7 separate regions of the Homo sapiens genome follow, and regions 1, 2, 3, 4, 6 and 7 are each linked to region 5. Evidence: promoter capture Hi-C in human tissues and cell types (Jung and others, 2019). All regions are on one chromosome and are shown on one strand. The core of a region is centred on a gene start or on the middle of the fragment in contact, and the rest is flanking DNA. Distances in the headings are between cores, read along the strand shown. Region 1 has its middle 16 kb from the start of UPK3A. Region 2 has its middle 14 kb from the start of WNT7B. Region 3 holds the start of LOC124905134 (a long non-coding RNA gene). Region 4 overlaps NUP50 (nucleoporin 50). Region 5 holds the start of ATXN10 (ataxin 10). Region 6 holds the start of FAM118A (family with sequence similarity 118 member A). Region 7 holds the start of LOC124905138 (a long non-coding RNA gene).

Region 1 (3,526 bases), core at 626-3,125, 400 kb before region 5:
TAAAATTTTAAAAGCGCCCATTAACAGGTGAACGGATCAGCTAACTGCATATCCAGTTGCATATCCTACAATTGGATACTACTCGGCAATAAAAAGGAATGAACTATTAATGGCATCTAAGAAAATGGATGAACCCCAAAATAGTTATGCTGAGTGAAAGAAGCCAGACCAAAAAAGAACACATGTTATGATTCCACTTACATGAAATTCTGAAAATCTCAGTCTCATCTATAGTGACAGAAGCAGACCAGTGGTTGCTTGGGGGTGGGATGGGGGTGGGGTGGAGGAGAGGGGAGGGGGGATGAAGAGGGAATGGATTACAAAGGGACAAGGACATACTTTTTCTTTTTCTTTTCTTTTCTTTTTTTTTTTTTTTGAGACGGAGTCTCACTCTGTCACACAGGCTGGAGTGCAGTGGTGCGATCTCGGCTCACTGCAACCTCTGCGTCCGGCGTTCAAGCGATTTTCCTGCCTCAGTCTCCGAAGTAGCTGGGATTACAGGCACCTGCCACCACACCAGCTAATTTTTGTATTTTTAGTAGAGACGGGTTTTCGCCATGTTTGGTCAGGCCGGTTTCAAACTCCTGACCTCAGGTGATCCATCTGCCTCAGCCTCCCAAAGTGCTGGGATTACAGGCGTGAGCCACCGGGCCCCGCCAGGGGCACACTTTTGGGAGTGACGGAAATGGTCATTATCTTACTGTGGTGATGGAGTCACAGAATATACATCTATATTCAAAACTCATCAAATTGTATACTTCAAATATGTGTGATTTATTTTATTTTATTATTTTATTTTGAGACAGGGTCTTGCTTTGCCACCCAGGCTGGAGTTCAGGGGCACTATCATAGCTCACTGTAGCCTTGAACTCCTGGGCTCAAGCAATCTTCCTGCCTCAGCCTCCCGAGTAGCTGGGATTACAGGCACGCGCCACCACACCCAGCTAATCTTTTATTTTTGTGGAGATGAGGTCTCACTATGTTGCCCAGGCTGGTCTTGAACTCCTGGGCTCAAATGATCCTCCCGCCCATGTCCACGCATGGTCCTTCCCTCTGCCGCACACAGAGGAAGGACCTGGGGCAAGAGGATCTGTGGGAGCTGAGTGGGGGAGCCTAGGAGAGAGGGGGTCCGAAAGAGGGGGTGGAAGGGAGAGGATGCATGCCCCGCCACTGCTGGGCTTCCTGTCCCCCTCTCCCTCCCCGCCAGCCTGCAGCCTTCCAACCGCTGCCCCTGCCCCTCCGCTCAGACCTTCCCCGAGCTCCAAAACCGTCCTGGGCTGCCAGGCCCCGCCCCGTCGCCCCCCATCCTCCACCCCCTGCCCCTTGCTGACCTCATCACCCAGCCCTCTCCCCTCCCTCCTCCTGACAGCCGCCGGTGAGGTTCCCTCTGCCTGGAAGATCTTCCCAGTCTCCCCAACCTCCCTCTGTCCCCTCCTCCAGGTCCCCGCACAGTCCCTTCTGGTGAGGCCACCGACGCAAGCCCCGCCTCCACCCGCTCACCCCTCACTCGCCCCCATCCCCGTCACCCGCCCCACTCCCCTCACCCGCTTCCCTCACCCCTCACCCTCCCCTATCTCCCTGGCCCGCCCCCACCCCCCTCACCTCTCACCCGCCCCCACCCCCGTCACTCCTCACCCGCCCCCATCCCCCTCGCCCGCCCCCATTCCTCCCGCCCCTCGCCCGCCCCATCTCCTGCCCTCGTCTCTCCCAGCACAGGAGAGCGCCGTGGGTTTGCTGACCGCGTCCCTGCTGAAAGGCGACTCCGGGAGCACAGGCTTCTGCCCTCTCCTGATGTCCCTAGCAGCGCCGGGCACGCAGCAGTGCTCGCTGGGTTTTTGTTGCACCTTTGAGAGGAAAAGGAGCTCGGTGTCCCCTGCAGCCCCTGGAAGTGAGGCGAAGAAGGCCAGGATGGAGTTGGGTGGGCACCCGCCTGTGGTCGTACCCGGATCGTGGAGGCCGCGGGCCCTGAACCCTAGACACTGGGCGGGACCCTCCCTCCATTATAAAAAAAAGTAATAAAGCAAAAGCATCTCGCGACTGCGCTGCCATAATGGCAAATGTGTCGAAATTATACGCGAAAACAATTGCTTCCCCCTGAGAGGGCATTCTTCTGATGCTAATAGAAATTGGGGGAGTCAGCCTTGCTGTGGGCGCGGCACCGCCCCCTCCCCGGCCGAACCGCCCGCGTTGCGCCGCCAGGGGGCGCCCGACACCAACGCGAGGCTCCACGCGCCAGCGGGGCGGGGCTGAGAGGAGGTGGGGGCGGAGCCTGGGTAGGCGGAGGCGGAGGCGGGGGCGGGGGCGGGGGCGGGGGCGGGGGCGGGGGCAGGCCCCGGGCGGCGAAGCCGCGCTCCACAGCCAGGACCCTGCTCTCCCGGCCCCGGCCCACCCTTGCGGTCCCGGCTGCACCCAAACCCGACCCCCTGCACTTCTCACCTCCCGGCGTAGTGCATACTGTTCCTTCCACCGGGAACACGCGGAATACCTTCCCCGTTCAAGATCTAGTCGAGGCACCACCGCCTCCAGCAAGCCTTCCCGAGCCTCAGGCTGAACCAGGCACCTCCCTTGGGCTCCTACAGGTCCCCTGGCCACACTGTCACTCTGTATTCTTCTCCTGGGACAGTGGACAGTGAGTCCCCCGGCCGGGATGGGGCTGGGTCACCCACGATCCTAGCACGTGGTGAGTGGGTTTCAGGTGAATAAATCTGGGAGCCGGGAGCCCCAGGCAGCTTACTCAGATGATCGATGGTGGAAGTCCTGTCCCTCCACCCACCTTTGCTTAGAGCCTGGGACCACAGACGCTCAGTAAGTAACTGGGCTCCCTGGCTCCTGCCCCAGCCTGTCAGCCCCCATCTATAACTTCTGAGGGCTGAATCTTCCTCCTGCAGAACCTCGGGCTCTGAAGGTGATCCTTAGTAGGCCAGCTTGCAGCCCAGCCTTTGCATCTAACACCCTCCCCGCTTTTCACAGTCTCTCCCTGTTCCCTTGTTCAGTTGGGGTGGGGGATCGTTTGTGAGACTTGTCTTCATATTGTGAGCAATAATAAAGTACTTAAAGATATTTGAAAACTATTTTCTTACGAATAATAGAGAAGATTCCAGTTATCCCTGTAGTAATCTCTCACTCATTTGCAACCTTGCAGACTTAGTGGTTTCAGAAAGTCTTGCAAATACTCAGCCTTTCATTCCCCGGGGTCCCGTGCTGGCATCAGGCTCACACATGCACCAGGTGACTGGTTCAGGCACAGAGGGAAGCGGACTGCCTGGGTTTAAATTCCAGCTCCACGCTCCATGGATGTGTGACCTTAGGTAAACTACTCAGCCTCTCTGTGCCTCAATTTCTTCATGTGTAAAGTGTGATGGTGATGTCAGAGCCACCCCTGGGATTCTCAGGACGATTCGGGAAACTGCCTGTGGTGCACTCAGGAGGGAGTGGACCACAGAGGAAGTGCTCAGTAGGGGTTAGTAGTGAGCAGTGCTATTAGGCCTTCAGGGTCACTGTCATGTGCTCAAGGAAGCGGGAGAGA
Region 2 (3,898 bases), core at 1,213-3,712, 320 kb after region 5:
TGAAAGTCATGGGGTGTCTGTTTTAGTCTTGGGCACCAAGAGTCACAGCCCCAGGGCTGACCACTGATGGCATCGACGCCTGGAAACTGGCCTGCTTCCCCCACACCACACAGGACCCATGAACGACCAAGAACCACTGATCTGGTCTGAACCTCTTGCTTTAAGGGTGGGAAGGCCGAGACCCAGGGAGGCTGCCAGGGTCACACAGTCATCAAGCAGGGGTTTGAGCCCCAGCATGCTAGCCCCAGGAGCCAGGAACTCTGGTGCTGACAGTGGGGTTCCCCAGGGCTGTTTCGCCATCTCCTACTGGGTGACTACAGCTGGCAGATCTGGCATCAGACCCACGGCCTGGGGTCCCTGGCTGGACCATACAATCTTCCTTCCCTGCAGGGGCCGCCTAGGGAGGTTGGCACACAGACCTGGACTCCTTAGCCCCTCTCCACAGGGGTCCCCATTTCAGCCTGAGAATGCACACAGGCCATCAGGAGGCAGTGGCCAGGGCGTGAGGGTGGGCTCCAACCCAGGCCCAGAAAATGCCTTCATAGCTGTAAGGCTATACAGCTGCGGAAGACTTCGGGCAACAGCTCAGACTGAGTCCAATTCGAACCCGGGCCTTCCGTGTACACGCCGTGGGATTCGGGCAAATCATTCCTCTCCAGGACACCTCAACCAAAGGTGTGAATGTCCACATCACCGGGAGGTTTAAGGAGGTAACACCATCTACCCAGCAGGGTGCTGGGGGGCCTCCTCGGGAGCTGTCACAGCTGATCCTGGGTCCACAGTGAACAGAAAGTGGGTGTTGGGGGCAGAGTCTGGAGACGGGGACAGTGGACCACCAGGCTCTGTGACCCCGAGCCTCAGCTTCCCCATCTGTGAAAGGACACCCAGCACCTTGATCTGTGGGCGCATGAAGCCCTAAGTGAGGGCCTGGCACACGCTAAGTGTTCAGCTCAACCAGCGAGTCACACTAACTGCGGAGACCAGGGCATTGCCAGGATTACTGGAGTTTGAAGGCCACATTTGCAGTGATCCCACCTGGGCTGGGGCTGATTGCTCTTCAGAGTTGCTGTGCCCAAAGGAGGGAGCAGATGGCACGTCAGGGAGGCAGCCCAGCCGTCACCCCCTTCAGGTGGGCAGCCAGGGTCCCTAGGGAGGCGCTAGGTGGAGGGCATAGGTGAGACACCCCATGGAAGCAGGCAGTAAGAAAGTCCAGGCCAAGGCCAGGGACAGGGCCTAACCTCTGAGACAGTGGGTCCTGCCCATGTACCCTATTTCCTGGCTGCCTGAGACCACAAAGAGCTGCAGCTCCCGAACACTCCCCACTTCTAATGCACTCTTAGCTGTACCCTGAGTGCAGCATCCTGGGCCACCTCTCAGCGCTTGAGGTGCCTTTGCCCTCCCTGCCTGGTGGGAAATGGGTACATACAAGTCCCTGGCAAAAGGAGGGGCTGGGGCTTTTATAACACTCTTTTCAGGAACTGGAGCCAACATACAAAGATTTTGAGGGGTGGGAATCATGACACATATCAACATGCCTCAAATATACACATCAAGCTAATTTCCTCACCAGTTAAAGTGGCTGAAATGTGGTCTTCTCATTGAGCCAGGCCAGGAGGAAACTGATCCGGATCCCAGGAGATTAAAACACGTGCAAGTCAAACGGAAAGCTCAGAGAGTGCTGGCTGGGTCCTGAATTGAATTATGTTGCCTACAGCTGGTGCTGTAGTCGTAGGGCACTGCGGACCACTGAGTTATTAAAACAGATATATTACTGCACAGGATCCATCCAGCAGGGCTGTTTCTGGTGGTGGAAACTTTTTTTTTCTTTAGACTGAGTCTCACTCTGTCGCGTAGGCTGGAGTGCAGTGGCGTGATCTCAGCTCACGGCAACCTCCGCCTCCCAGGTTCAACCAATTCTCATGCCTCAGCCTCTCCACTAGCTGGGATTACAGGTGCACGCCATCACACCTGGCTAATTTTTGTATTTTTAGTAGAGACGGGGTTTCACCATGTTAGCCAGGCTGGTCTCAAACTCCTAACCTCAGGTGATCCACCCACCTTGGCCTCCCAAAGTGCTGGGATTACAGGCGTGAGCCACCACGCCCGGTCTTTCTCTGGGCTTTTAAAAGTTCCACCAGGGCCAGGAGCAGTGGCTCACACTCCTCCTAAAGTACTCCCAGTACTTTAGGAGGCTGAGGCATGTGGTTCACCTGAGGTCAGGAGTTTGAGACCAGTCTGGCCAACATGGTGAAACCCCATCTCTACTAAAAATACAAAAATTAGCTGGGCGTGGTGGCTCGCACCTGTAATCCCAGCTAGTGGGGAGGCTGAGGCAGGAGAATGGCTTGAATCCGGGAGGCAGAGGTCGCCATGAGCCGAGATCATGCCACTGCACTCCAGCATGGGTGACAGAGTGAGACTCTGTCTCTAAAAAATAAGATAAAATAAAAGCCCAGAGAAAGAGCTGCAGACTTTATGAGACGCTAAGATTTCCTTCACTCCCACCAGGACCTGTGGCACAGGCCAGGCAGGCATGGAAAAGGCCAGATGAGGGACAGGCAGAGGGGCCCACAGTTATATCCCGGCGGGGAGAGCATGGGCAAGCTTCTAGCCTGTCGAGGCAGAATCTTCGCCCATTTGGGCCAGGGGCTCATTCACCAGGACTGGTGGCAGAAGGAGACGGAGGGGTGGCATCAACTATGTTCGATGGGCAGGCCATGCTGGCCGGGTCCCAGGGCCTTGGGGAGAAATCAGCCTTCAAAGGAAAATGCCACAGAAACTAACAAGAGCCCAGTGCCATGAGAGCCCCAGGGAGACAGGCAGCGGGCAGGGGTGTTCGGGGAAGGCTTCCTGGAGGAAGACAGCCATTGCTGAGCCCTGAAGGGTGAGCCAGGCAGACAGTCCAAGAAACCGTCTTCCTGGCTGAGGGACGGCACGGAGATGAGCAGGAGCAAAGCCTGCTGAGCCACGCATGGGGCCACACAGCCATCGGCTTCAAACCGGCATTGGGTGAGTGGCCTTCTCCCAGAAGTTTCAGTCTTTTGCTCTAAAATGGGGTGATAGGGCCTGCCCTGTCCCCATAGGGCCCCTGCAGGCACTTCCCTGGGGCTCCCAGGAGCATAGCCCCTGCACCCACCCTCATCAAACCGACCTGCACTGAGCTCCAGCCCTGGTTTCCACTACCCTTTGTCCCTATTGATCCCTCATGCTCTCTTTGGGGCACATTGCCTAGATCACCCTCCTCCAAACTTCTCACCAGGAAACTCCTCTTCAGCCTACTGAGGTGGCTGGCACCTCCTCCAGGGAGCCCTCCTGGTTGTTCAAGGTAACCTTAGATGCTCCCTTCCCTTGCCTCCACACACCTTCTGCCTTCCCATCTCAGCCTGGACCCACTGCACAGTGTCTGTCTCTGTCTCTTCAGGAGCAGCTTCTGGGAAGGTCTTGGGCCAGTGCTGTTGCACTCTACCTTCCCCTAACACCTCGAGTGCAGAGCGGTGCCTGAGGTACTTGTGGGAGACACACAAACATGGCCGCGGCTACCATGGGCTACCCAGTGATGACCATTGAGAGGGCTTCTTTGGCAAATGTTGTTGTTCTTGTTAGCGATGATGATGGTGGTGGTGGTAGTGAAGGTGATGGTGGAGGTGATGGTAATGATGGTGGTGATGGTAATGATGGTGGTGATGGTGACGATGGTGGTGGTGGTGGAGGTGATGGTGGAGGTGATGGTAATGATGGTGGTGATGGAATGATGGTGGTGGTGGAGGTGATGGAATGATGGTGGTGATGGTGATGCTGGTGGTGATGGTGGAGGTGATGGTAATGATGGCGGTGATGGTGATGATGGTGATGATGGTGGTGATGGTGGAGGTGATGATAATGATGGTGGTGATGGTGA
Region 3 (3,490 bases), core at 496-2,995, 340 kb after region 5:
GTCCCTTGGGTCTCTGGGGAACAAGCTGGGGCTGGCGGTGGGGACAGGGAGTGGAGGGGAGAGGCTGGGAGGGCCGGGGCAGGCACTACCCCAGTTCTGCCCTCTGGCACCCAGTTCCCTTGCCCAGCCATTCAGGAGAATGAAGACAGCAGGATCTCAGCGGATAAAGGAATAGGGTTTCTCTGTCCAGCCACAGTGACTGGGGCTCAGCAGCAACATATCCCGTGGGACTTCCACCCTCCCAAGGGGCACCCCCAAAGAGTGACCAGTCCTGGGCCCATGTGTGAAGGGTATTTTTGCTGCTACTGTGGACAGATGCTGTCTTCGGCCCCAAGCCAGGCAAACCCAGAATGCCAGAGTGCAGTGCGGGAGGCGGTCCTCCCCCAGGGAGGGATGGGGCTGGGGACAAAAGCCCTCCACAGGGGCAACTCAGAGGCCTGCCCTCCCGGCTCAGGCTCCCGAGACAGAGCCCAGGGCCAGGCGGTGGCTGACTCCACTAGCGGAGTGCCCTGGACTGGCCGAGGCCCTCCCTCCCGGGGCCACTCACATGAATCTTTGCTTCAGGGCCGGCTTCTGGGGAGACCCAGAGCACGACAGGAGCTCATAGACAGGCCTCTGCGGGTGCGTGGGTTACAATGGCGTCTGCGGTCCTGGAACTCAGAGGCAGAGGAGGCGGGACCCTGTCATCCCAATCACTGTGATTCAGCAGCATGGGAAGCCAAGGGGCACTGAGGCTAGAAGGACCCAGAGCTGAGGGACACTGGGCTGGCCTGCAGGGGAGAGGCTCTGATTTTAAGGAGAAAGGAGATAAGGATGGGGCCCAGGGCAAGGGGTGCCATCTACAGAGCAGCTCCCAGGCCTGCAGAAGCTCCCTGGTCTGTGTCACTGTGGGCTCCCTGGCAGTGGCATTCCCAGCACCCCTCCCGCTGCCACTTCCCCACTTGGGGCTGGACCACCGGCCTGCCTGCAGGGGAGCTTGTGGGGTCTCAGCCCAACAGCCTGGAGCCCAGGGGCAGGCAGCAGCATGCTCTGCTGACCCGGCAGCCACATGGGCCCCCGGAAGCTGCCTCCGAGGCAAGCTTGCACCAGCAGGATGTCAGGGCTGCCCTGGAGCCAACACTGGGGACCGAAGGGAAGGACACAGGCGTAGGCAGGGGCAGCAATTGGACCCTGTGCGTACCTGACCCTATGCGAGCTCTGCAGCTCAAAGGGACCAGAGCTGGCCTGAGTTGGGCAGAATGGGCTGGACCTTATGCTCTGGATCGATGGGGCTGACCCACGGAAGCCAGGACCTTCGGGCCAACCCTGAAGGGACCACGGCTGAGGACTGTGTGCCCTGGAGGGAGTTCTGAGATGGGGGGTGTAGGGGTGGGGAACCCACAGGCAGGCACTGCCTCAGGGCCTCCCTCCTGTCCCATGGCCCCCAGGTGTCCTGCGGCCCCACACTCAGCCTCCTTCTGGGGGTCTGGGTGGCTGCACCTTCCATGGTGCCAGCCAGGCCTTGTGCCCATCTCCACCCCCTTGCCCTCACCTGCCCCAACCCACCACGCCTTGGCGGCCTCCTCTCGGGGCTTCCTGGCCTCCACCAAGCTGCACCCACCTCCGCCCTCATCACCCAGGAGGCCTTCCCCGGCCTGGCCCGACGCAGGCTCCACAGTCTCTCACCAGCCTCCCAGCTGCTGGCAGTGAAATTCACAGGAGCTCCCTCTGGGGCAAGGGTGCCTCCGCCTCCTCCATGGCAGCGTCCCCAGCCCTGCACGGGGCCCCCAGTGAACACATGGGCTGAATAAATGAGTGAGGGCATGAGGGACGCCTGAACACACGAATGAGAGAATGGCACTGGGGGTCCGTGAACAGCTTGTTGCATTGAAGATGGTGAAGGATTTTCATCCTGGTCCAAGCATGGAGGCCTCTCTAGAAACCGTCCCTTCCAGCTCCATGAGGGGTGAACTCTGAGCTCAGAGGCCATGGGGCCAAGTGCAGAAAATGGCTTTGAACTCTGGAGGAAGGAAAGAAGCCACCCTCCAGGAAGGAGTAAGAACCGCTCTGGAACATTCCCAGGAAAGGTCGCTGGGGGGCAGACCTGAGAGGTTCCCCGGACTCGGCGGACCCAGATCCCCCGCAGGGCAGCCCCTGGTGAGTCAGGGCCTGAGTCAGCGCCCTCCGCCTTCCCAGAGGCCCCGCCAGGACCTGCAGCCCTGGGCGCCCCAGCAGCCCGGCCCTGCTCAGCGCAGCTCTGGGTTGGAACTTGCACTTTCCAGTAACTCGGACCTCCCCCCGGCCGCCTTCCCAGGCGCCACCGGGCCCAGCAGATCGTCACCGTCCAGGTGCAGGGTGGGGGTGTGTGAAAGTCAGGCCTGGGACCCGGGCAAGTTGCTGCCGTGCCCTCTGGCTTCCCGGGGGACATCCTTCACCTTTGTGCGCCCAAACCCTCTGTGCTGCGGTTCCAACCCCCCTCCACATTCCCGCCTGCTCCTCCGGGCCTGCCCGTTCCCTCTGCCTTCCTGGGAACCTCCCTCTATCTCCGCATCTTCCGCCGCTCCCTTCCCTGCGGCAGCCGGCGGGCTCCGACTCTCGCTCTTCAGGGAACACCGCCCTTGGCGCCACGCCCACCTCCACCCGCGGCCACCTTCCCTCCCTCCCACCGCCAGACCTTCAAGACAGGATCTACCCCGGGCGGCCCCCAGCACAGGTCTCAGCCCCCTCCAGACTGGGGTTGTCGCCACCCTCCACTGAAATGGCGGCAGCCAGCTCCCTCCTGCCGCAGCCGGTGGCAGCCAGCTCCAGGCCTGGCCGGCCCCGCCCACCCTGTGTCTCGAGTGGCACCCACGGCGCTGTCCCTGTCCCGCCTGTCTTCTCGTGACCTCATCCGGCTCCAGACTCTCACATGTTTACGCCTTCAGCCCTGCCCAGCCCTGGACCCCAAGTCCCCTCCAATATTTCTTTTTCCTTTCTTGTATTTTTATTTATTTATTTATTTATTTATTGAGACAGTTTCGCTCTTGTCGCCCAGGCTGGAGTGCAGTGGCGCGATCTCGGCTCACCGCAACCTCCGTCTCCCCGGTTCAAGCGATTCTCCTGCCTCAGCCTCCCAAGTAGCTGGGATTACAGGCGTGTGCCACCACGCCCGGCGAATGTTGTATTTTCAGTAGAGACGGGGTTTCAGCATGTTGGTCAAGCTGGTCTCTAACTCTTGATCTCAAGTGAACCACCAGCCTCAGCCTCCCAAAGTGCTGGGATTACAGGCGTGAGCCACCGCGCACGGCTATCCCTTCCAATATTTCCGAGGCCAGCTGCCCAGAGAAGGAGGGCTGGGTGGAGAGGACCGTGCCAGCAGCAGTAGGCCTGGGCCAGGAGACAGGCACGCACCTCCGCGGTCTCTGGCGAGTCTATGTCCACACAGCGGCAGGACCTCCACCCCCAGCCACCTGCAGCAGCCCCACATCTCCACCGGGTCACCCTGCTGACATCAAGAGTGCCTCCCGCAATG
Region 4 (3,732 bases), core at 287-2,786, 500 kb before region 5:
TCCTGACCTCAAGTGATCCACCCGCCTTGGCCTCCCAAAGTGCTGGGATTACAGGCGAGAACCACCGCACCCAACCCCCCAAAAAATTGTTTTAATTAGCTGAACATGGTGGCATGAGCCTATAGTCACAGCAATTTGGGAAGCTGAGGCGGGAGGTTTGCTTGAGCCCAGGAGTTCAAGGCTGCTGTGACCTGTGATTGCACCACTGCACTCCAGCCTGGGCAACAGGGTGAGACCCTGTCTAAAAAACAAAGAATAAAACACAGCTGTACTTATAGGATGTGGGCGAAGGATTACCCAGGTGCCGAGGCAAGAGACTGAAGGCACAAACTGTTTCAGTATAATACATAAAATAGTTAGAATAAGAATAGTCATAATACAAATTAGATACAGAGATGATCACGGGCATTATCAATCATTAGTATAAACATTACTAGTCATTAGCTTTTAATATTACTCTTTGTTGTACTACTAATATAACCAAGGAATAACCGGCAGATACAGGGTCAGGTGCTGAAGGGACATTGTGAGAAGTGACCTAGAAGGCAAGAGGTGAGCCAGCCCTCTGTCACGCCCGCATAAGGGCCGCTTGAGGGCTCCTTGGTCAAGTGGTAACGCCAGTGCCTGGGAAGGCACCTGTTACTTAGTAGACCGTGAAAGGGAGTCTCCTTTACTTGGAGGAGTCAGGGAACACTCTGCTCCACCACCTTCTTGTGGGAGATTGGATATTGTCCAGGCTTGCCAGTAGTCATCCAGAGGCTTGAACCCCTCCCTGTGGTGCTGTGCTTCAGTGGTCACACTCCTTGTCCACATTCATGCTCCTCCCGTAGTCCTGGTTCCTCTTTGAAGTTCTTAGTAGATAGCAGTAGAAGAAATAGTGAAAGTTTTAAAGTCTTTGATCTTTCTGATAAGTGCATAGAAGAAAATGCTGACGTACGCCGCCTTCCTTCTCTGCTTCAGCTACCTAAAAGGGAAGGGCCCCTGTCCCATGATCACGTGACTTGCTTGACCTTGTCAATCCCCTGGACGACTCATCCTCCTCACCCTGCTCCCTTGTCTTGTATGCAATAAATATCAGCACGCCCAGCCATTCAGGGCCACTGCCGGTCTCCGTGTCTTGGTGGTAGTAGTCCCCCAGGCCCAGCTGTTTTCTCTTTATCTCTTTGTCTTGTGTCTTTATTTCTTACAATCTCTGTTTCCCCCTTCGAGGAGAACACCCGCAAAGCCCAGTAGGGCTGGACTCTACAGTCGTACCTTATCAGCAGTGTGTTACCCCCAGGCCAGATGACTAAGGAAATCTGTAACCACGACTTTCAGGTTAACAGCATAGTGCTAAGTGAAAAAAGAAAAATGTTAAAACTGCAACTGTTTCCAAGCTTATTCTTAGACGGCCATCTTCCTTCTTTTGGAATCTTTCTGGTACTAGTACTTTTTTTCTCTACAAGTGTATCTCCTCACATATGTTTAGGGAAACCAGAATCCCAAGGATGTGAGTGTTTTGACAGGGTCAAAACTGATTTGGTGCTTTTTAACTAAAATCTTTGGTTATGGGGGTTTTTGGTTTTTTGTTGTTGTTGGTTTAAGATCTTAAGCACAGTTACATTCTGGGCTATAGTAACATCTAGATTACCATGTAACTATTTGCTTAGACATTAAAATATTCAGGAATGAAAGAACTCCCATTCGAACATATGCCAATGAAATGTGTGGAAAGATTACATTTAGTTAAGTACATTTAACTTGGGGCAAGTGCAGCCAGATGGTCCCCTCTATGAGTGTAGGAGCCCGTTAAGTTTAATATGATCTGAAACAACTATAGGTGAGAATTTTTGCATGAGAAATATTTTATTCCGACCCTACAGGGTAAAAGAAGGGCTATAAACTAAAGCCGAAGATATTCAGCAGCTTTCTGACGTGGACATCAGAAGTGTGGACATGAGTGTGCTTTGAGCGCACTGTGGAAGAGCAGTGGTTGTCCAGCAAGGTCCTAGGTGCCTCCGTGGCCTTTCGTACAGTGGGCAAGTTGGGCAGGACTCATCTTAAAAATCATGTGTATGTTATAAATAACAAAATTTATTTATTTATTTTTTTGAGACAGTCTTGCTCTGTTGCCCAGGCTGGAGTGCAGTGGTGCTATCTCGGCTCACTGCAACCTCCACCTCCCGGAGGGTTCAAGTGATTCTCCTGCCTCAGCCTCCCAGGTGGCTGGGATTACAGGTGCCCACCACCATGCCCAGCTAATTTTTCATTTTTAGTAGCGACAGAGTTTCACCATGTTGGCCAGACTGGTCTCAAACTCCTGACCTTTGGCCTCCCAAAGCGCTAGTATTATAGGCGCAAGCCATTGTGCCTGGCCAAAATTTATTTTTGAGAGGCCGGACACAGTGGCTCAGTTCTAGCTTGTTGTTGTTGTTGAGGATTTTGTCATCTGTTTGGCTTTATCTTACTGCTGCTTAATTTGTATTGTATTGCAGGTGGGAACATTCTCCATGGCCAGTGAGGAAGTCTTGAAGAATAGAGCCATAAAGAAAGCAAAGCGCAGAAATGTTGGATTTGAAGTGAGTGCCCCCTTACAGCTCTTGCTATTAAATACTCATTTGATTTCTGGGTTGCACAGCAATCCCTCCGCTGGGAGCAATGATATCAACAAATGCTTTCTTAAAATACTTATTCTTTGATGTAGGTCATGGGAGATAGAAAAAAATAAGAAACGTCAGGTCTGGACCTTAAAGAGAGCTTATCCAGTTGAGGAAATAAGATAAATATAGACAAATTCAAGTTGAGTGACAATCTGGAGAAGAAAAATGAGCAAAGCAATACAGAGGTGGGCGAAGTGGCATCAGATTGGAGGAAGAAAGGAAAACGCAAGGATCTTCTGAGAGTCTTGTCTGCTCCCTGCGATTGAGGCCTTGGTAGGGGGAGCCCTTTCACTATACTAGAGGCATTTTAGGTGTGGATTTTTTGCTAGTATAGTATATTAAAATGATTCATTCCTGTGCTAAGAAGGATGGAAGATGAGTTGTAACTCCTAAATTGAAATAATGTGCTGATTATTAAGCAGTCACTCCGCATCTAAGAACTCGTCCCCAGTACATCCTCTCCCTTCAGATACATTCTAGACCCAGGAGAGTGTGGTCTTGGTGGCCTGGACATCTGGTGTTAGGCAGGAGATGCCGCTTTGAATATCCTGGGTGGCAGCTTTGAAATAAACCTACCCTACCTCACGTTTTGCAGTGTTTAAAACATCAAGAATAGACTATATTCTTGGGTGTCTCTAATCTGGAAATCCAAAATGCTCCAAGATCTGAAGCTTTTTGAGCACCAACGTGATGCTCCAAGGAAATAGTCATTGGAGGATCTCAAATGGTCAGGTTAGAGGTGCCGTGCCAGTAAGCATAATGCAGACTTCCTGGGAGCGGAAATACTTACTTTCCTGAGCGTTCTCCTTAAGGGACATGCAAGCTTATTTCCCTTTTATTTCCAAAAAAAAAGGATAGGAAAGGTGTATCATTCACACTTTGAGAAGCAATGAAAAGAAATTGTTATTACAAAAATATTCATTACATTGCCAAAGTTTTGATCATAAAATGTATTAAAGTTTGAAAACGTAAGGAAGGGAGCCAGGTAGGTGGCAGTGGTGGGGAGGCAGTCAGTAAGACGTTTACAACAGCCAGTCACTCAGAGCGTCTCATAAATGGTGGTATGTGTTAATGGGAAAACAATTCAAATTAT
Region 5 (3,614 bases), core at 5-2,504:
TGGGATTACAGGCATGAGCCACCATGCCCCACCAGGATTCACTTTTTCTGCATACTCTGGTGGTGTTTATTGTTATCTTTACATTTTATTTAGCAAAGAATGTTAAAAGCGCCATGTTATAAGCACACTCCTACCCTCCAAGCAGAATGTAAAGGGTATGTATTTATATATTTTAAGTGGTCCCACAGCAATTTGTACAGTTATAGCAGTTCACAACTATACTCAGTTATGTTTGCTTCTCTCCTTCTCAATAGTCTGTGAGGTTCCTTCAGGTTTGGAACTGTCTTTTATTAATCTTTACATCTCCAGCACCTAGCGCAGGGCTTAGCAACAATTTTTGTTGAAAGTATATACACTGTAATAAAGGGCAGTGGAAAGAAAATATGTGAGTTATCAACACCAGCTAGAGAAGCCTTGTCTGATTCCTGTGAAATATATTCATTTCCCTTAGGAAAAAAAACAATTCTAACCCTATTGCTGTGTAACTTAGCTTCTTGACTTCGAACGGTATTTTAAGGCTTTGAGGAGCTGGAGCAATGTATACTCACTAGAGGCAAAGTGCCTGGTAAGTGGTCTGGTATTGATCAGCAATGATCAGTAAGTACTGGGAAGTGCGTTTTCAGGGCCTGAGACTTGCAAGCTAGTGACAGACCGCTCCAGCTTCCAGTGGACCCGGGCGGGGGCACTGATCAACCCACTTGAGCAGTGGGATCAAGGTCTTCAGCCTTAGCAGTGGGAGCCTCTGCCCGGCCCCCTTCGTTCCCGAGACCCTCAGTCAGCGTCTCCTCCCAAGAGGGTCCCCTCCACCCAGAATGTCCTCCCCTGGGGGAGACCACTCTGTCTGCGGGCCCCCTCCCACAGGAGGGCCCCTCTTCCTCAAGGTGAACCTCTGTCCCCGATACCCGCTCCCAAGACCGAGACCTTGTTACGGCCCCACCCTCCACAGGCCCCTTACCCCCCGGATCCCCTCCCCTGGGGGAGACCCCTCTGTCCGCGGGCACCCTCCTATAGGACGCGCCCCTCTTTCTCAGGGTGAACCTCTGGTTCCCGATACCCGCTCCCAAGACCGAGACCCTGTTACGGCCACATCAACACAGGTCCCCCTCCCCCCGGCGTCCCCTCCCCTCGGAGGAGCCCCGTCTGCGACGCTTCCCAGTCAATCACCCCCAGCATCCCTCCCCGCTCTCACCCAGAACTTCCGCCGCGCCCCCTCCCCTCAGGCGGGACTTCCGCCGGCGCCCCCTCCCCCGCGGCGCCGTCTCCTCCTCCCGCCTGAGGCGAGTCTGGGCTCAGCCTAGAGCTCTCCGGCGGCGGCGCAGCTTCAGGGCAGCGCGGGCTGCAGCGGCGGCGGCGGTTAGGGCTGTGTAGGGCGAGGCCTCCCCCTTCCTCCTCGCCATCCTACTCCTCCCTCCTCGTCATCCTCCCCCTTCGTCCTCCTCGCCTTCCTCCTCCTCGTCAGGCTCGACCCAGCTGTGAGCGGCAAGATGGCGGCGCCCAGGCCGCCGCCTGCCAGGCTGTCGGGCGTCATGGTGCCGGCGCCCATCCAAGACCTGGAGGCCCTGCGCGCGCTCACGGCGCTCTTCAAAGAGCAGCGGAACCGGTAACGGGTCCGGCCGGGGGGCTGCCCCGGGCAGGGGAGGGCGGCCGGGACTCCCGCGGCGGCCCCGGCCTGGACCCAGGCGCCGCCCCCGCCTCGCTGGAGACGCGGAGGGCGAGGCCTGCGCGGGCTGCCTGAGCGCCACCCAGGCCTCCCGACTCCCAGGCACCGCCTCGTGCTCGTGGGTCCCCGCGGGGCCTGGGGCGGGCGCCCCGCTCCCCCACCGCAGCCAGTCCGGGTGCGAAGCCGCGATCCCGGGAGCCCTTGCCGCGGCGTGCCGGTGATGTTGACCCAACACACGGTTAGGCCTCCCCTGTCATGTGCGAGGGCTGCGCCAGGCCCTGGCTGCAAGACCCACGCGGCCCCCAGAGTCATAAAGCGTGTGTTTTAGCGGGAGAGACCCGTGTTACGGACGCGGGAATTGGGCAGTTGCGGGGATGGCAGTCTCTAGGCATGGAGTGGGACTGGCACTCCTTTCTCCTCGGCGTTAGAGCCCAGGCTGCACCATCTGCCCTGGGGGCAGCGCTCTGTGCAGTGTGGAAGAGCACGGGCCTGGAGAGACCAGTCCAGTCCTGATGCCACTGAGGGGCAAGATAGCCAGGCAAAAAGAGAAGGTGCCCAGGAGTCGACAGTTGTGGATTTGGTTCCTGGCCTTGCAAGCTGCGTGTTACTGTGCAGTTTCTCCAGGCCTTAGAATTCTTGTCTAAAAATGGGACTATAATACACAGCTTAGTTGCTGGATTGTACAGAGGAATAAATGAAATAAAGTACGTGAAAATATAAAATGTGCGAAGCCCTCAGTCAATGCTTGTTTGATCTTGTTCTGTCCTCTGGGCCTCAGTTTTCTTGTCTATTTAATGGGAGTAAAGTTGAACAGTACCTCCCTGGTGATAGTGTCATAAGGAGTAAATGAGATATAATGCATATTAAATCCTTAGGACATACCTGTACATAGCACTAAATGTAGCTGATATTATCACTTAACACATTGATTGGTAGTTACCCATGTATCAGCTATTGTGCTAGGTGATGGGGTAGGAAAATGGAAAGTCCTTGCTCTCTCCTGTACTAGTATGTACAAGATAACACAGCTGTGGGGGTATGTATGTACAAAGCAGAGGGAACATTGAAGAAAGAAATACTGAGACTTGGGTCAGCCTAGGTGATCACTAGAGGACTTCCTCTCTTTAAACTAGACACCTGGTCTGAGCACTTCCTTTACCTCACATCACTTTGGGAAATGTGGAGCTGCTGAAGGAATGCTATTAATAAAAGTCCCTGGTACTGCTCTATGGGCCTTTGGGGGAGATGTATTTATTGATTTAATGCTTAGGCATTTCTGTATCATGATGGACCCTCCTTTTAGTTAATAACCCAGTCATCAACCATTTATTGAGCACCTACTATGAAACAGATTTTTTTGTTGGGGTCTGAGGGTACAGAGAGGAATGATGTGAGTGATCCCTTTTATCAGGCATATTTGGGAAATAGCTAAATAAACACATTGTAATGGAAATCTATACAAGAGGTGGTGGCACAGGGGAGCATGTGGATATGTTGGAAGATTGGCGAGCCAGGAGAGGCTTTTTAAGGTTATTTCAGGTGCTCGGTTATAGATGAGAGGACTAGAGGGAACAGTGTCTGCAAAGGGGCCATATGTTAATTTTGCAAAACCGATGAGACAATTAAGTAACATAGATAAGGTTTCTCGTACAGAAGAGACATTTAGTCAGACATCAGTTCCCTTTTTATAACTTGGAGAAAATCCAAGCCCCTGAGCCAGTTTAGAAGGCCCTTCTTGACTCTATCTCTTGTGAGGGAAGAAGTTACAGAGAACCATTGATGGTTTTTGTCAAGGGAGTGGCGCGATAAGATCTGCCTGTTAGATCTTCCTGGCCGCCTCCGCCTCCATTGTGGGGAATAAATGAGAGGACGAAGCTAGAGACAGGGGGGACCTTTAAGGAGTGGTAGCGGAAGCCCATGTGAAAGAGAAAAGTGCCTAAATTAGGACATTGTG
Region 6 (3,840 bases), core at 712-3,211, 360 kb before region 5:
AGGTTACGATTGCTTTGGTCCCACCACCCCTCAGAGGATGCCCTGCGCAGAGTCTTGGGTCTGACTGACCTCGGCAGCACCCAGCCCATAAGGTCCTGTTAATCAAAATCCTTGCTGGGGCCTGGGAGCTCCATGAGGGAAGGGGCCACATCTCCCACAGGTCTCGGGCTTCAGCACCCAGTACAGGAGCAGGTGTTCATGAACTGAATTATATATCTTTTGCATTAAAAAAAATTTTTTTTGAGACAGAGTCTCGCTCTGTTGCCCGGGCTGGAGTGAAGTGGCATGATCTCAGCTCACTGCTGCCTCTGCCACCCGGGTTCAAGTGATTCTCCTGCCTCAGCCTCCCGAGTAGCTGGGATTACAGGTGTCCGCCACCACGCCCGGCTAATTTTTGTATTTTCAGTAGAGATGAGGTTTTGCCAGGTTGCCCAGGCTGGTCTGGAACTGCTGACTTCAGGTGATCCACCTGCCTCAGCCTCCCAAAGTGCTGAGATTACAGGCGTGAGCCACCGGCCTTTTTTTGCATTTAAGTCGCACCTCCAGGGGTTGGGGAGCTGTATGCAGTGGTGGTTACATGTGTGGGCTGAGGCATGGAACTACACAACCTCTTGGGCCTGAGCTTCCCCTTGTTAAACTGGAATAACAATGAAGACGCCTTCCTCATAGGGTTGTTCCAAGAACACCATGAAGGAACGCATGCAAAGTGCTCAGGGAGTGCCTGACCCCACATACAGAGCACCCAGGGGCTGCCCTCTTCATCCCAGAGTCACTGCTCCCACTGTTTTCTGGGCTCTGGCCCCCCCTAAAATTTCACAGGCCGCTAACACAACACTACCTTCTGTCACAAAATGAGAGCTTTCTGGTGGGCTAGGGTAGGGGGAGATATTAACAGCCAACTTTAAAATCAGGCAGGAAAAAAAGGTGCCAAGGAGACAGGAAGTAATAAATGACTCCAGGTTGGGCAGGGCAGGCTGGGAAGAGGAAGTGGATTGGGTCTTGTTTAGGTAAAAGACTTCAGTGGCAGACAAAGGAGGAGTAATAAGATCGCTAGGGGGCCCGTGCCCAGCCCACCCACGCACAATCTCAGTCCTCGCAATACCCACAAGGTAGGTGCTAGGATCACACCCTTTACGGACGCGGCACCTGCGACAGGGATGCGCGAGGAGTCAGGGGGCCTCGCCGGATCGAACCTAAGCTGGGGAAGAGTATTTCTTGTATTTTTAGGAGAAATTCTCAGCCTCGGGGAAGAGTATTTCTTGATGAGGGAAGAGCGCGGGGAAGACACTCACGCACGCACAAACATGTGGGCGGCCATGGTGTGCCCAGCGCCGTGCTGGCTTCTGGGAACCCCCAGTGGACAAGACGGACAAGGTACCGGCTCTCAGGGGAAGTGGGAGCCAGTCACAAGCGTACCTAATTTCGGAGAGTGACAAGTACTCTGAAAAAGAAAGAAGGTAGGGCTGGTGACTGGCCAATTTAAGCGGGCAGGAGTCTGCTGGGGGACGGAGACCAGCCTCAGGTCTGGGTTGGGGACAGAAGCTGTGCCTAAGTGTGGTGCAGGATGCAGTTGCAAAGGAGCGCTTCCGATCGCACTTGATGCTCGCCACGTCCCTGCAAAGTGCTCCCGCCCCCTTTCTGCAAATGAGGAAACGGGACGCGCGGCTCGCCGGGCCAGGTAGGGCTAGGACGCGGACTCTAGGCCCAAGCGCTCCCCAGCGCAAGCCCTCCCCCGCACATCCGACCGCGCCTGCGCTGGAGACCCCGGGGGCGTGGCCTCCCCGGTGGGCGGGACCGTGGTCACCGAGGTGGGCGGTGCCAGAGGATCTGGCGGCGGGGCGGGGCGGGGCGCGCGTCCTGGCTTCGCCCTTCCCCGGGGCGGGGCCTCCGGGGACCGCGGGGCCGTTGGTTTCGGGACGGAACGTTCACGCGGCTGGGGCGGGCGCGCGGGGGAAGGGTTTGCGGCGGCGCCGCTGCCGGCTAACGCGGAGGGGCGCCTGGAGGCGGCGTGGCGTCCGCTCTGGCTCCGACTCCGGCTCTCGCTCTCGCTTCTAGCCCGCGTGCCTGCGCAGTCCCCTCCCCGAGAACCATCCCCTTGCCCCGCCCAGCGTCAGGGGTGCGCGGCCGCCGAGAGACCCCGGAGGCGTAGCCGGCTGCGGAGGCGAAGAGGTGGCAGCGCGAGCTGGGACCAGCGTCTCGGAGGCGCCGCAGGTGAGGGGGCGGGGCGGGCCCGCGGTCCCTGCATCCGGAGCCCCTGGGGACCCCGAGATCCTCAGGATCCGCCCCGGCCCCGGGGCCACCCCAGGACTCCCTCTCAGCTCTTCCCCTGGAGCCCCTGCCCCCGAGACCCCCTCAGGATCCGCCCTGCCCCTCCAGGCCCGCGAACCCCGAAACTCCAAGATTTTCTCTGGACTCCGAGACCCCCTGAGGACCCCGGCCGCTAGTGGGCCCTGAGAACTGTTGGTTCCGGAAACTCTCGAGGTTCCCTTGGGACTTGCTTCCAGCAACCTCCTCAGAAGCCCCCAGGCCCGGGGCATCTTCCTGTGGGGAGCCGTGGTTCCCAGTGTCCTTAGCCCCGCGAGACCCCGGGTCCCCGTGCCGCCCACCCTGAGGCTCCCTCTCCGACCTGATCTCAGGGCTAGGTTTCTCCAACTTGAGGTCCCTGGACCTGCGGGGCGTGGGTGGAAGTGTTCCCAGGTCTGGTGATAACTTAAGACGGTAACAGCGCGCCCGACGACCACCTCCTAAGCTGTGGTCCCCGCGCCTGCAGGTGCAGGGCCGGGTTTAAGTTTTAATGTTCTGCTGAGACTCAGGTGGCCCCACAGGACAGTCTATAGAGCAGGAGACCTGAGGTGGCCGAGGGCGGCCGAACCGGGGAGGGAGCGAGTTAGGGCACATGGGGACGCTTTTAGGTTGTCTCCTCCTTAATTTTTTCATTCAAGGAACTAACATTTTGTTTTTGAATGCCTGATAGGCTCCAGGAATTGACACTGGAAATAGAGATGAGACGGTCCCTGCTGTCAGGGCCTAGGGACCTGGGGCATAAGACAAGTAGGTCGTTTTTATCTGGAGGAAGCTGTGTCGTCGCTGGCAGGGAACCCATCTGGGTGGGCATGGGATTCTGGGAAGGGGTGGGTGTTAAGGAGGGCGTCTTAGGAGTCGTGGGGAGGAGATGCTAAGCAGCAGGTGAGCTGATTCTTGAAGGTTGAGCTAGAGGAGAAGTTTGCCAGGGTCATTCCAGGCAGAGTTTCAGGGGACAGCCAGTATGTCAAAAGGCAGAGAGGCTGCCACGGCACACAGTGTTGGAAGGCGGGAGGTGTGGCTGGAGCACACCTAATGAAGGTGGCGTGGGAGTGAATGCTAACTGCGGAGAACCCAGCTTTGCTCCCGGAGGCCCACCGTGCCCTTGGCCCTTTCTTGAACGACTGCACCTGCCATTGTCCTGAGAAATGATCCAGCTGAGCTGAAGGAAGGTGGGAGGTGGTCAGGGGGAGAAGTGAGGGAAGTGTCTCGCTAGAGACCTGGTATGGGAGAAGCTGGGACTTTTGCAGAGTACTGGGTTTGAGGTGGGAGTGACAAGAAAGAGGGTGTGATTCTGAGAGCCAGTCAGGACCAAAGCATGCCCAGTTTAAGCTGAGTGGAGGGTTTGGTACTTAAAGGGAGTGGGTGGCCATTGAAGGGCTTTGGGAGGAGAGGGGCGGGAGTTGGTGTGTTTTTGAACCATCCATGTGGCTGTGGTGGGGAGACTTTTTTGGAGGAAGCAAGACCCTATGAGAGATGGGGGTGACCTGGACCAAGGCGGTGGTAGTGGGGGACTGTGGCTTTCTGGAACGGGGCTAA
Region 7 (3,580 bases), core at 911-3,410, 470 kb after region 5:
GCTTTGGAGACAAACATGGTGTTTGCCAATATCTTGGTTTTGCCAAGTCAAAGCTAACCAATATCAGCACTTCATCTAAGCAATTCCCACTAAGGAAAGGTATTTTCAACAACAACAAAAGAATATAAAGGATATAGTCTTGGGAAGGAAAAGGATATTTGTCTTGTTTTTCTTTGAGAAAAGAAATGAGCCTCTCAATGTTGCCCAGGCTGGAGTGCAGTGGTGCAATCACAGCTCGTTGTAGCCTTGACCTCCCAGGCCCAAGTGATCTTCACACCTCAGCCTCCTGAGTAGCTGGGACCACAGGCACGTGCTACCATGCTTGGCTAATTTTTTTTTTTTTTACTTTTTGTAGAGACGGGGTCTCATTATGTTGCCCAGGCTGGTCTCAAACTCCTGGCCTCAAGCAATCCTCCCGCCTCTGCCTCCCAAAGTGCTGGGATTACAGGTGTGAGCCACTATGCCTGGCCTGAAAAAAAAGGCTATTGCTTTTTTTTTTTCTTTTTGAGATGGACTCTCACTCTCGTTGCCCAGGCTGGAGTGCAATGGCGCAATCTTGGCTCACTGCAACCTCTGCCTCCAGGGTTCAAGCAATTCTGCCTCAGCCTCTCAAGTAGCTGGGATTACAGGCATGCACCACCACGCCCAGTTAATTTTTTGTATTTAGTAGAGACGGGTTTCACCATATTGGTCAGGCTGGTCTTGAACTCCTGTCTCAGGTGATCCACTTGCCTCAGCCTCCCTAGGTGCTAGGATTACAGGCCCACCATGCCCAGCCCAAGGCTCTTTCTTTTCTTTTCTTTTCTTTTTTTTTGAGACAGAGTCTCACTCTGTCGCCCAGGCTAATCTCCAGTCACTGCAACCTCCGCCTCCTGGGTTCAAGCGATTCTCCTGCCTCAGCCCCCAGAGTAGGTGGGACTACAGGCACGTGCCACCATGCGCAGCTAATTTTTGTATTTTTAGTAGAGATGGGGTTTCACCATGTTGGCCAGGCTAGTCTCGAACTCCTGGCCTCAGATGGTCCACCTGCCTCGGCCTCCCAAAGTGCTGGGATTACAGGCATGAGCCACCACGCCTGGCCCCGAGGTATTTCTTTAAATCAGCTAGTTGAAGTTCTATAGGAAACTCTTCACAATGTCAGTTTTTTGTTTTTTTGTTTTGTTTTGTTTTGTTTTTTTCACTTTGCTGCAGACCCAGAAAACTTTGTCAAACATGACCTGTCCCTTCCAGGAGATGAGGGACCATGGCCCAATCCCACGTTTTAGTGAAACCCAAGCAGAGCAATGCAATAGGGCAGCCCCCCTTCCACTCAGCTGCACAGGCTCCGGTTCAGATTGCCTTTCCTGGCTGGCAGGATGCTTTGGTGAAAGGCAGATAATAGGGTGGGACAGGGGATCACGGGCGGGAGACACGTAGGCACTGGGGCTGGTGTCTGCGAGGCATGAGGCCTGCCTGTCGGCTGTCCTGAGTGGAGAGACAGGACCGGGCAGTGGGCCGCCATAAAGATGGTGCTGGATGCGACAAGAGCCGCATGGAACACAGGAGGTGGTGGCCACACAAGGCAGAGGGCAGCTTTGGCAGGGGGACGGTTGCCAAGCAGGCTTCCTGTAGGAGGCAACTCTTGACAGAGCCCTCAAGCTGGTGGTTACCATGTCCCAAATATGACCCACTCATCAGGCCCCACCCTGCACCACCCCCGTGCTCCCTCCTCAAACTCACACCAGGACCCATCCAGGAAGGCGTCCCTGCCCCATTTTAGAGATGAGGGGGCTCGGATAGCATCACCGGCTGGAGGTTGTAGTTTGAGGAAAAGGTACAGGAGGATTTGAATCCAATTCTGTTGAACTCCAAACCCCAGGCACCCACTCATTCCATGAGGGAAAGTTGGGGGACAGTGCCCACGTGGCACGGTGCTGTGCACGTAAGCTTGCCTGTCTTGTGTGTTTCCAGGCTGTCATGCCAGACCTCATCTCTGCACTTGCAGTCTTCCCTGGCCGCAGCAGTGCCACTCACTGCCAACCACTGGGTCAGATCATTGCAGAATCCAACTCCACACAGAGCAGATTGTCCTTTATGGACCAAATATGTCTATCTGGTTGGGCGCAGCGGCTCACGCCTGTAATCCCAGCACTTTAGGAGGTCAAGGCGAGCGGATCACCTGAGGTCAGGAGTTCGAAACCAGCCTGGTCAACATGGTGAAACCCTGTCTGTATGAAAAATACAAAAAATTAGCCGAGTATGGTGGTAGGTGCCTGTAATCCCAGCTACTCAGGAGGATGAGTCAGGAGAATCACTTGAACCTGGGAGATGGAGGTTGCAATGAGCCGAGATCTCACCACTGCACTCCAGCAAGGACATAAGTGCAGAGCAAGACTCCATCTCAAAAAGAGAAGAGAAGAGAAGAGAAGAGAAGAGAAGAGAAGAGAAGAGAAGAGAAGAGAAGAGAAGAGAAGAGAAGAGAAGGGAAGGGAAGAGAAGAGAAGAAAAAAGAAAAGAAAAGTAAAGAAAGAAAATCCGTCTATCTACACATCACACTTTGCAGTGAGACTCCCACGGCACCTAGCATGACACAGGGAGGGGTCCTGCAGCTTCCAGTCCATGTCCTGGACTGGATAAACAACATCCATGATCTAGCCCTGGAGCTGGATCCTGTGTGACGAGGTGGACACCTGTCCCTTTGGAGGGGCAAAGAAGGGAGGCAGTGCAGCTGCAGGTGGGCTGCCCTGTTCTTCTCAAGATCTACAGAGACAGACATCTGAGCCATGTCGAATGGGCCCTGCTGCAAAGCTGGGGACTGGTTAATTTTCAAAGGGTACAGTGTCATGACAGCAGCAGTTTCTGGACCTGCGGAAGCTTCCAGATCCTGCAAAGCTAGAATGGGTGCACAGCTTAAGCCCCTCCCCACCACCTCAGCTGTGACCACTGGTTAACATGTAGCATGCAGCACTTGGTGCTAATCAGATGGAGTCATGCCTCTGCTGACAACCCTCCATGGCAGGTGTCCCACAGCCCTTAGGACCAAAGTTAAACTCCTCACTGGGCTGCAAGACCTGCCTGGCCAGGGCCTTGCCCAGCTCTGCCCGCTTTGTGCCATCTCCACACTCTCTCCCCTTGAATGTCTCCTGCCACAGGCTTCTGCACATGCTGCTGCCACCCCCCTGGAGCTGTGGGGCCAGGAGCAGCCACCAGGGAAATCTGATCCTTGACCCTGGGCTCCTGAGTCTGCCAGAGGCTGCCGTATCAGCCAACAGACAGCTTCTGCAACAGACAACCGAACCCCGGGGGTACCCAGGGCCAGGTGCTGATGGACTGGGACTCGGGAGAGTTCTCACTCCCTGCCGGGGACCTTGGCCACATGCTGCCATTCCTGGCCCTTCGTTCCTCATCTGTAAGATGAGCATAAGCACAGCTGCCTTGTGGGACTCTTGTAGATTCTGTCCCCTAGTATGACAATACTTTGTTACCTTGGACCCATGGGGTTTTGCTGTCAGTACCAGGATGGCAACTAAGGACATGCCCATGGTTGGCCCTCACCGACGAGGTCCAGCCTTGGGTCGCCAAGCAGCCGCCTGCTCGCTGC

What was found. Contacts are between HindIII fragments. The study calls those that stand out against the background at their distance.
Region 1: a fragment that was not itself captured here is called in contact with the fragment with the promoter of ATXN10 in region 5 in 1 of the 25 tissues and cell types used here (aorta).
Region 2: a contact is called between a fragment that was not itself captured here and the fragment with the promoter of ATXN10 in region 5, in 4 of the 25 tissues and cell types used here (IMR-90 fibroblasts, dorsolateral prefrontal cortex, lymphoblastoid cells and 1 more).
Region 3: a contact is called between a fragment that was not itself captured here and the fragment with the promoter of ATXN10 in region 5, in 1 of the 25 tissues and cell types used here (lymphoblastoid cells).
Region 4: a contact is called between a fragment that was not itself captured here and the fragment with the promoter of ATXN10 in region 5, in 1 of the 25 tissues and cell types used here (hippocampus).
Region 6: a contact is called between the fragment with the promoter of FAM118A here and the fragment with the promoter of ATXN10 in region 5, in 1 of the 25 tissues and cell types used here (heart right ventricle).
Region 7: a fragment that was not itself captured here is called in contact with the fragment with the promoter of ATXN10 in region 5 in 1 of the 25 tissues and cell types used here (bladder).

Annotation. Positions count from the first base shown.
Region 1 is chr22:45,266,979-45,270,504 of GRCh38, forward strand. No RefSeq gene overlaps it. Among named protein-coding and RNA genes, the nearest start is that of UPK3A, 16 kb to the right of the region's middle. RefSeq lists a silencer at 2,096-2,325 and an enhancer at 2,516-3,167. The HindIII fragment of the contact is 5,158 bases long and covers 1-3,526 here.
Region 2 is chr22:45,989,631-45,993,528 of GRCh38, forward strand. No RefSeq gene overlaps it. Among named protein-coding and RNA genes, the nearest start is that of WNT7B, 14 kb to the left of the region's middle. RefSeq lists an enhancer at 2,933-3,432. The HindIII fragment of the contact is 8,090 bases long and covers 1-3,898 here.
Region 3 is chr22:46,011,484-46,014,973 of GRCh38, forward strand. It overlaps LOC124905134 (a long non-coding RNA gene), which reads left to right and starts at 2,098. Exons shown (of 2, transcript XR_007068136.1): 1 at 2,098-2,327; 2 at 3,014-3,490. RefSeq lists silencers at 2,200-2,389, 2,540-2,629. The HindIII fragment of the contact is 5,321 bases long and covers 1-3,490 here.
Region 4 is chr22:45,169,126-45,172,857 of GRCh38, forward strand. It overlaps NUP50 (nucleoporin 50), which reads left to right. Exons shown (of 8, transcript NM_007172.4): 3 at 2,475-2,558. Among named protein-coding and RNA genes, the nearest start is that of NUP50, 7.1 kb to the left of the region's middle. The HindIII fragment of the contact is 3,699 bases long and covers 1-3,386 here.
Region 5 is chr22:45,670,580-45,674,193 of GRCh38, forward strand. It overlaps ATXN10 (ataxin 10), which reads left to right and starts at 1,255. Exons shown (of 12, transcript NM_013236.4): 1 at 1,255-1,600. The coding sequence starts at 1,485. RefSeq lists silencers at 928-1,117, 1,178-1,227, 1,558-1,887. The HindIII fragment of the contact is 16,564 bases long and covers 1-3,614 here.
Region 6 is chr22:45,307,973-45,311,812 of GRCh38, forward strand. FAM118A (family with sequence similarity 118 member A) reads left to right here and starts at 1,962. Exons shown (of 9, transcript NM_017911.4): 1 at 1,962-2,211. RefSeq lists a silencer at 1,628-2,307 and an enhancer at 3,024-3,832. The HindIII fragment of the contact is 15,582 bases long and covers 1-3,840 here.
Region 7 is chr22:46,144,032-46,147,611 of GRCh38, forward strand. LOC124905138 (a long non-coding RNA gene) reads right to left here and starts at 197. Exons shown (of 2, transcript XR_007068140.1): 1 at 1-197. The HindIII fragment of the contact is 4,597 bases long and covers 1-3,580 here.